2 separate regions of the Homo sapiens genome follow, and region 2 is linked to region 1. Evidence: promoter capture Hi-C in 16 types of primary human blood cells and fetal thymus (Javierre and others, 2016). All regions are on one chromosome and are shown on one strand. The core of a region is centred on a gene start or on the middle of the fragment in contact, and the rest is flanking DNA. Distances in the headings are between cores, read along the strand shown. Region 1 holds the start of ZNF697 (zinc finger protein 697). Region 2 has its middle 27 kb from the start of ADAM30.

The links. The method cuts DNA at HindIII sites, captures the fragments that hold promoters and counts their contacts. A CHiCAGO score of 5 or more calls a contact.
Region 2: a contact is called between a fragment that was not itself captured here and the fragment with the promoter of ZNF697 in region 1, in 1 of 17 cell types (M1 macrophages). The highest score is 5.1, in M1 macrophages.

Annotation. Positions count from the first base shown.
Region 1 is chr1:119,646,662-119,650,877 of GRCh38, forward strand. ZNF697 (zinc finger protein 697) reads right to left here and starts at 1,605. Exons shown (of 3, transcript NM_001080470.2): 1 at 1,030-1,605. LOC124904389 (a long non-coding RNA gene) reads left to right here and starts at 1,655. Exons shown (of 2, transcript XR_007066506.1): 1 at 1,655-1,726; 2 at 2,063-2,315. RefSeq lists silencers at 1,022-1,185, 1,483-1,542 and enhancers at 1,601-2,441, 1,613-1,682. The HindIII fragment of the contact is 7,030 bases long and covers 1-4,216 here.
Region 2 is chr1:119,866,954-119,871,632 of GRCh38, forward strand. No RefSeq gene overlaps it. Among named protein-coding and RNA genes, the nearest start is that of ADAM30, 27 kb to the right of the region's middle. The HindIII fragment of the contact is 1,503 bases long and covers 1,369-2,871 here.

The sequences.
Region 1 (4,216 bases), core at 355-2,854:
TTCCTCAAACGTATTCCACATTAAATAATATCCACATGTTGGCTTGTTGAGAGAAGAAGGTAAACAGTTGGGGGCATCAACAAAAAATCAGGTGAGGGGAGAAAGGAGAGATAGTGAGTGTGGCCCCTTAGGCATGCTGAGTTCAGTTACAACAGTCACACTTGGACTGTATTCAAAGTTGCCCACTCATCCACCACAGCTACTCAAAGACATTTAACTCGCTAGCCATTATCCAACCGCATTTACCAGACGCTCAGTCTTGAGGGAGGAGGGTAACGCAGTAGGGGATGCGGAGTATTGGTGTCATCCTACAGGTTAAGGACAAACATGCCCACTACAAGGACAGGGATACATCACCAACTTCAATTCAGCCCAGGGTTCATGTAGTAAGGGGTGGGTGATTCACTCCTGTGGGGGAGGCAGGGCGGGGGCGGTTGGGGGAGGCGGTTAGGAAAAAGGAAAATCGTGGAAAGTCCCAGAGGAAGTGGTAGTCAGTTCCCGATGCATGGCCATAATGTACATTGGCCATAAGGTACACTCAGCGCCTCTGTGTCGCTGCTCCCCCTCAACCTTTTACTCACCCACTCCTCCCAACACGCGCCTCACCCGTGCCTCCATGCACAATCCTGAGCCTCGGCATCCCCGCGAGGTGCAGGTTCCAGCTTTGCCCACCACCCCACCACCTACCTACATGGACACGTGTGGTTGGAATGCCTCCCGGGGCTAGACGGCCACCCCTCTTGGGCTGCGAGCTGCTGCCCATCTCTCCACCCACCCGTCCTTATTGTGTCATTTGCCCGGTCTGATGGCAGCCCCAAAGCCGCTCATTTGAGTGGGCTAGAATGGAGAAGAGAGGAAAAGGGAGGCACACATTTCATTCACTAGGACCCAAGATGACCTGCCGCCTCTCTCCTGCCCTTCTCGGAGCCCCCCACCCTCCCTTAGCCCCAGTGGGGCTGGAGGCACGAACAGACAAGGCAAGGGGAGCGCAGTCCGTCAAGGTCCACAGCTGCACACAAAGCCCTTCACCTTCTCCTTGCCTTCCAAGCTCCTCCCTGGGCTTGGTTTCTCCGAGGGTCTCTGATGCCCCCTTCGGTGGTCGGCGGGACGGTCCTATTCCCTCTTGCATCGCTGTCTCCTCCCTCAAGTCTCAGCCTCCTCCTCCCCGCCCCTCGCCACATACCCCTGAGGGAGCTCAGTCCTGGCTTTGGGGGCGCGAGAGCACCCCATAAGCCCGGGGCCCTGCGCCCCAGGGGAGCGGACAACGGTCCACTTTACGAGGCACAACTTCGCCCAGCCGTTCCGCCACCGCACTCGAACACACACCCCATCCCCGCAGCGGTCGGGTCTGGTCCCGATCAGCCCCATCCCCGGGAGGCGGTTGAGCCCAGCCACAGCCACGCTCCTACCTGCGAGGCGGCTGGCGCGGCGAGGAGCTAGGGCACCGAGCGCCCCGGCCCGAGCCCCGCACCGCAGCGCGTCTGCCCTTGTGCGGCGGCGGCGGCTGCAGCGGCCGCTGGGTGGCCCGCTGGCTGGCTGGTTGGCTGGCTGGCTGGCTGGCTGGCTGGCTGGCTCGCTGGCTGGCTGCCCGGCTGACTCCTCACTGGGGCTTCCTGTAGGGCTGGACAAAGGACATTTCCTGGGAGGAGCGGGAGAATGTTCCCAGCATGCCTCGATTTGTAGTTCCCGGGGACTTCCTGCCACCGCAGCAGCGGGCGCCCTGGAGGTAGCTCGGGCCAGGCTAGGACTCCGGGACAGGAGGAAAGGCGCTCGCTGCTTCTCTAAGCGCTGTGGGGAAGGGAGCGGCCGGCGGGTCTTGCCCCACGCCCCGCCCCGCGGCGCTCAAGGAGCCCGCTGTCCCGGAGCACGCGAGATCCCAGCGCTGCACTCCGAGCTCGCGGCACCGGTTGCGGGCAGCCGGTGGGACGCTGCCGCTGAGCTGTCCCATGGTTCGGGAGGGCTCTGCGGTGGGAGAGGCCTTTTCTTTAAAAACTGGGAAGTTTGTGGTGGGTTCGCTTTTTAAAAATTAATCTAAAAACACAAAATCTATCTTTTAAAATAGATTTTCTTTTTGTCTTTTACGCCGTTGACATCCTGCTGGGGGCCGATTAAAGAACTTGATTGCTCACCAGGAATTCAGGTTCCTTAAGATCTTGGCGCTTCATCTTTAAAACCATACAGAGCTGATTGTTTCCAGATCCCGACCCGGTGACATTCCTCCCTCATTGTTGACCTTGTCCCAAACATCTTTTCAAGAAAAGCAATTAAATTGAGATTGAAAATAAATTACGTAAATTAAATATTAGACGTGAAAACCTGTGTGCTGCTGAATTAGGAAAGTGCTGGACTTTCTGCGTATCTTTCCTTCATTAACCTTTAGGATTCAGCTTCTTGGTCCCATAAAACAGATGTGCTGGCCACTGTATATTGAGTGTGTGTATTTCGGGAGTGGAAGGGTGAGGAGAAGAGGACATTGGCTACAAGAGAGGAACTCTACTTCCAGCCTAGCAAGAGTCTATGATGCCCTGCACATGTTTTTGTCTATTTCTGGGACCACAGACTCAGGACCCTTAGAAAATCAAGGAAGGACCACATAGAGACTAAATGACTAAAAGCTATATTCTCTCCTGGAGCATGAGCAGAAAGTAATAAACTGAACTAGGAAAGGACAAGTTCTAGGATGCTCTAGAATGTGTTTGAAAAGTAATCAGATAGAAAAGTCTCTGGGAGGCCGGGCGCGGTGGCTCACGCCTGTAATCCCAGCACTTTGGGAGGCCGAGGCGGGCGTACTACGAGGTCAGGAGATGGAGACCATCCTGGCTAATACGGTGAAACCCCGTCTCTACTAAAAAAAAAAACACCAAAAATTAGCCGGGCGTGGTGGCGGGCACCTGTAGTCCCAGCTACTCGGGAGGCTGAGGCAGGAGACTGGAATGAACCTGGGAGGCAGACCTTGCAGTGAGCTGAGATCATGTCAGTGCACTCCAGCCTGGGCAACAAAGTGAGACTCCGTCTCAAAAAAAAAAAAGAAAGAAAGAAAGAAAAGTCTCTGGGCTTGGTGGCTCATGCCTGTAATCACAGCACTTTGGGAGGCCGAAGTGGGAGGGTCACTTGAGCCCAGGAGTTCAAGACCAGCCTGGGCAACACAGTGAGACCCTGTTTCTACGAAAAGTAAAATAAAATAAATAGCGGGTGTGGTGGCGCGTACCTGTAGTCCCAGCTACTCGGTCGTTTAAGTGGAAGGGTCGTTTGAGACTGGGAGTTTGAGGCTGCAGTGAACCGTGATTGCACTCCAGCCTGGGTGACAGATTGAGACTCTGTTTCAAAAAATAAGGTCATAATTACGTGTCACTTCCACTTGTCATTTCACATTTTAAATCCATATGATTAAAACATTTGGGTGAAGGGTTTAGCTTACATTTAAGTAAAGTTTATGCTAGAGTTCTCTTTCTCTAGAGATCCTTAACCTCACGGATAAGATGGCCTGGATTAAAATGTAGAATTGATGAGAAGCATGCAGATAGGACTGTTCACCTCCCAAAAGTTCCTGTTGTATGCCCACCCTAAAGGTCCTGCTGTATGCCCACTCTGTTGACTGTCCACCTAAATTAATTGTGCTGTGATCCTTGCATTTTCTGGACCCTACAAATTACTGCTCCTTCATATTCTCAACCTGGTAACATTCCAGTGAAACTAATCTCCCCATCTCCACCCCAAAGAATTGATTATTGTTTTGCAAATCAAGTAGCCTCTAATAGTGTTCAGTCTGAAAAACATGATATACTTGCTTGTAGCATTTAACATATAACATTGCCCATTGAAACTATTTTTTGCCTTGCTTTTAATACAACACACTCTCCTCCTTCTCCTACACTTCTAACTTGAGCTCAGAATAATTGAACTTTCACTCATTATTTCACGCCATTCCAAACCTGTCCCATCCTTTTGTTTCCAATCTCAGTTATTTTGTTACTTCAACAAAGTTTTGTTTAACATTTATTCATGCTAGTCTCCATGTCTGGAGTAGACATGTAACATTCAACAGTAAGATATTTTACTGAGTAACTACCAGCTATGTCTTACCCCCAAGAAGCCCACACTCCAGTTGAAAAGACAGATGTCACAAAATTACTTCACAGTGTTTAAGGGCTATAATGCTGCCTTATACTGGGGTTCGTGTTCTGTAAAAGTGGGGCTCTTTCCATAAGCCTTCTGT
Region 2 (4,679 bases), core at 870-3,369, 220 kb after region 1:
TATAGGTTGGGTTCCTAGGAAGTCTCCTCCTGAGATGGATGCAAAGGGGAACTTGCACATATCAAGGACTCAGTAAACATGTGTCTTGGGAGTTAGGAACATATGGAAGGCATTTCATAGTTTGTACACATTTTTGTCAACATGAAAATAGCAGGCATCTAGACTTATAATCTCCTAAAGAAAAGATACAGAAACTTGACAATCAAGGGTTCCATCCACTTAAGAACCAGTGAACTCTGAGAGAATCCTAAGTGTTAGCTGATATTGCCCTATCCCAGCCCACAGACCCCACACTTTTAAGATTTGTTGGGTTTCCTATGTGTGGTCAAAGGAACACTAGCCTAATGAATTTGACACTCTGAATAAATAGATAGTTCAGGGAATGTAATGTTACATAGTTATAACACATTACTTATCACTCTCACTGCAGTAGCCTTTCTGAAAATGAAAATGAAATCCCTGATATTCAACTGAAACACATGGTAGTCAAAACATAAAGGTTGGGTTTGTAGTTTATTCTAATTATTGAGTCCTCAGCTTGAATGAGGGTAAGTAAAGTGCAGATCCCACTGGAATGTCTTCTAGATTTGTGAAGTGGAATGAAGGGTAAAGGGAGAATGCAATTATATAGCTTAGTATAATAAAATATCTTTCCCACCTCACAATTTCTTTTTTATTTTGTCTGATCTCAGGGTTCCAGGCCCAAGTGTAGCACCAATGCCTAACCGTGGGCAGAGAAGAATCCACTTCCCAGGTACCTTCACTATTTGGGGGCCTATAAAGGTGGAGCTCCTCAAAGGTAGGATTGCTGGCATGTCTTAGATGTCTCAGAGGCCTTTGGACAGGAAATGCCCAAGTGTGTAGGTGAGGGGATGGTTGCCTTTTACAGAGTCCAGCAACATAACTTCTGAGAGCACATCCTGTACCAAGAGCTTTGTTTTTTTTTTTTTGTTTGTTTGTTTTTGAGACAGAGTCTCGCTCTGTCACCCAGGCTGGAGTGCAGTGGCGTGATCTCAGCTCACTGCAAGCTCCACCTCCCAGGTTCATGCCATTCTCCTGCCTTAGCCTCCCTGGTAGCTGGAACTACAGGCGCCTGCCACCACGCCCGGCTAATTTTTGGTAGTTTTAGTAGAGACGGGGTTTCACCATGTTAGCAAGGATGGTCTCTATCTCCTGACCTCGTGATCTGCCCACCTTGGCCTCCCAAAGTGCTGGGATTACAGGCGTAGAACTTTGATACCCATCCCAAAGATACCATATCTATACATTTAAATTTGGAATGTGTATTCCTAATAGTATTTCAGGATGGAATTTAACTTCACATCATGTAGCCTTATGGAAGCCAACTTTGTATGCAGCTCAATTCCAAGCTTGGTCAGGCTTCTGCTTGGCCCCATCCCAGGTTAAACAGTACCTGTAAACTGGTTTCACCACTGGGAAAAGGATATGTGTCCAGGATATAATAAAAAGCCTTAGAGACAGATTATTGCACACCATAGGGGTGTTCTTAGGTGTGTAATGATTCCAGATAGGATTGCTATCATGCTATTTCTAAGAATAATACTCTGAACTAACTCTCTGAGATCTGGCACTGACTAATGGCCAACGCTGGAAGGAATCATTGTTCCTTTTCTTAGACAAGGAAAATTGAACTCCTGCTGATTTGGCTAAAATCTCCACAAAATGATTTGGAGAAAAGACACAAAGAACTGTTTCTTTCAGCTGCTATGATCTCCCTTTACTGAAGGATAGCCTGGGAAAAGAAAAAAGGTAGCCCAGTCAATTTTCATTGTAAACAGATAGTGACAGGCTGCCTGGTAAATACACCAATGGTCCTTACTATTGGAAACCTTCTTATATGTGGAATGCTTTTAGTAAGATGTGTCTGATCTACATAGGTAATCATGGTAGTGAGACCTGGAATCTGTAGATTTGCATGCCATTGTTACTTGGAAATTGTCACATAGTCTATGCAACTATCAGCTTTATCAAATGGAAATGACCAAAAATGGCTCCATATTTAAGTAAGTTACAATCTCGCACATCACTTACAGAGCTCTTATATTACATCTGGGCTACATTATTTCCTAATATGGAAGGGAGGCTCTTTGGGGAATGATGGTGGTGCTCTCATACTTGTGATTTGTGTGTGTCTCACAATTAGCTTTCTTCTTGAGTATGATAATATCAATTAATAAAATTTGAAACTAGGTATGGTTTATGATTCTCATAAGGTTTATTTGCAACCCGATCTTTTGTGTTTTCTCCATTTCATGTGGATATTCTCTTATGCAATTCCCTGACCTTTCTTAAAATAGAGGTCATGTCCTTTGCAGGAACATGGATGGAGCTGGAGGTCATTATCTACACCAACTCAGGAACAGTAAACCAATACTGCAGGTTGTCACTTATAAGTGGGAGCAAAATAATGTGAGCACACAGACACAAAGAGGGGAACAACAGACACTGGAGCTTACCTGAGGGCGGAGGTTGGGAGGAGGGAGAGGAGCAGAAAAAATAACTATTGGGTACTAGGTTTAGTACCTGGGTAATGAAATAATCTATGGAATATGAGTTTATATAACAAACATGCACATATACTCCTTAACCTAAAATAAAAGTTTAAAAACATAGTGACTGTTGGCCAAAGTCAAACCAGAATAATCAGTGTGTAGGGTCATGGTTAGCTTATGGATCAAATACTCCGTGGCCTTTAGGTCCCTATTAAACTAAATATGTTACCGAAGTTCCTTCCCAAACCATATATTCTTTTGTATGTGCCCATTTCCAACTCCAGAAGCATGATGCCAGTTTTCACTGCTACTTTATGGTCTCTGTTTTGAACTCCAGTAATCTTAACTTACAAATTGAAGCTTTCTGTTTTATTACATGGACTGAGAGGTCAAGATAAGTACAGCTTATTGAAGGGCGTAAAGAGACTCTTGTTTCTCTGAAGAACAATGGAGTTGAGCAGCACTCTTTGTTCTTAATGAATTATCTTTTATATTTATCTGGAAAGTGGGTGATTTTTATACTTATTATTAAAAGTTTTATACAGAGTTATTTATACTGCCTCTATTTATCCCATTGAGAAGTGAGTTCATATTGTACCAGTAACTCAAAGATAATTCATCACTCTGAAAACTTACTTTTACCCACTGAGCAATTACAGGCTAGGACTCCAATGGATCTTAATAAGCTTGGTACATAATTGCTCAATATATGGTATGTGATAAGCTTAATTTTATTAGCACTCCTCATAAATCAGCATAATGTGATTTTCAGAGGGAAGCCAAATGGCTTGGAGCTCTGGCATACTGAACCTTGTTGTTTGTGGTCAACAGCTCTATGGTGATGTGGGGTCTTACGAGGCTTCCTGACAGATGAGAGGTATCTCAAGGGACTCTACTTCAACAGGGAGGTAATCACAGCTTCCTCATTCCCAGCATAATTTAAAACACCTTTGTTTTCAATCATTTTATTCACTATTCTTTTTCTTCTCACACACTCTTGGGATCCTGCACCTTCCCCTCATGGCTGTATCTCTCTTTTTCTCCCACCCACGACAGTCTCCAGGCCCATGGGACTGAGGAAGTAGTTGTCTGGTGGTGGCGCTGAGTTTTTCACTTAGGAGCTGCCCTAGTGCTGCCATGTCCCACTGAGACCTTTTTCGTGACTTGACCTCCTTAAACCATTATTTCACTTCAGCTCATCCATGTAGGTTGGAAGAAAATTGGGCCATTTATAAAATGCATAATGGAATTCTTCCTCATCTCTCCTAACACGGGCAGCAACTGTGACCTCCAAGAAAACTCTTGCCCTGAGCTCCGAAATCCTCCAGCATGAAAAGGAGAAAAGATAAACTGAGGCTGAACTCCAAGAGCTGAAGGAACTCTACTCTGGGCCTTCCAGGTAAGACCCCTTCCCTGGAGGAGGGAAGTTCCTTGCTAGGGATCACCAAGGACAAAGGACTTGCGCTACACCTGCTGATTCCTTCTATTTTCCTCTGATTTTAAAACAAAGTAAAACACGCGCGGGTGCCTACTATACTTAAAGAATAAGTTGGTCTTCCAGGTTAGCACTGCTTCTAGGGCCAGGAGGACCCCTAGGGCTCTGCTTGCAGTCCCCACGGGGGCCACAAGAGTGCGCCATGGTGCTTTCCCTTGGAACTCTGTAATGAAGCAAGATGCCTGCCGGTTTCAGTTCCTGGGAGATTGTGGCAAATATTAGCCCTGCGTATCCAGAGGTTCCTGACTTTTGGTCACACCATTCCAGGGAGCGGCCTAAGGCCTGCACTGCCCAGGCCTCGGGAGTTGGCTGTGGAGGCTCAGAGCCTCGGGTGAAGCAATCTTATTTGATTTCCTCGAAAACAGATCCTAACCGGAGAAAGACGCATTCATGCTTCTTCTGTTGGTGGAAAATATTCCCTCGTATTTCTCTCAGACTGAGCAAACCTTCCAGTAGTCCGGGGCCTCCTGCTGTGTGCTTTGGGGCAATTCAATTGGGAGAGTGGAGGAGAAGCAGTAACAAGATAGGAGGAGAATGGCAAGACTGGGGAGGTGGAGACAGATGAGAAAAGGGCCAAAGAGACACATGCGGAAGAGTGGTGGGGCACGGGGGGCGGTGGGCGAGCTGACTGTCAAGGTGGTTCTCTTGTCATCCGCAGAAGGGCAGACCCT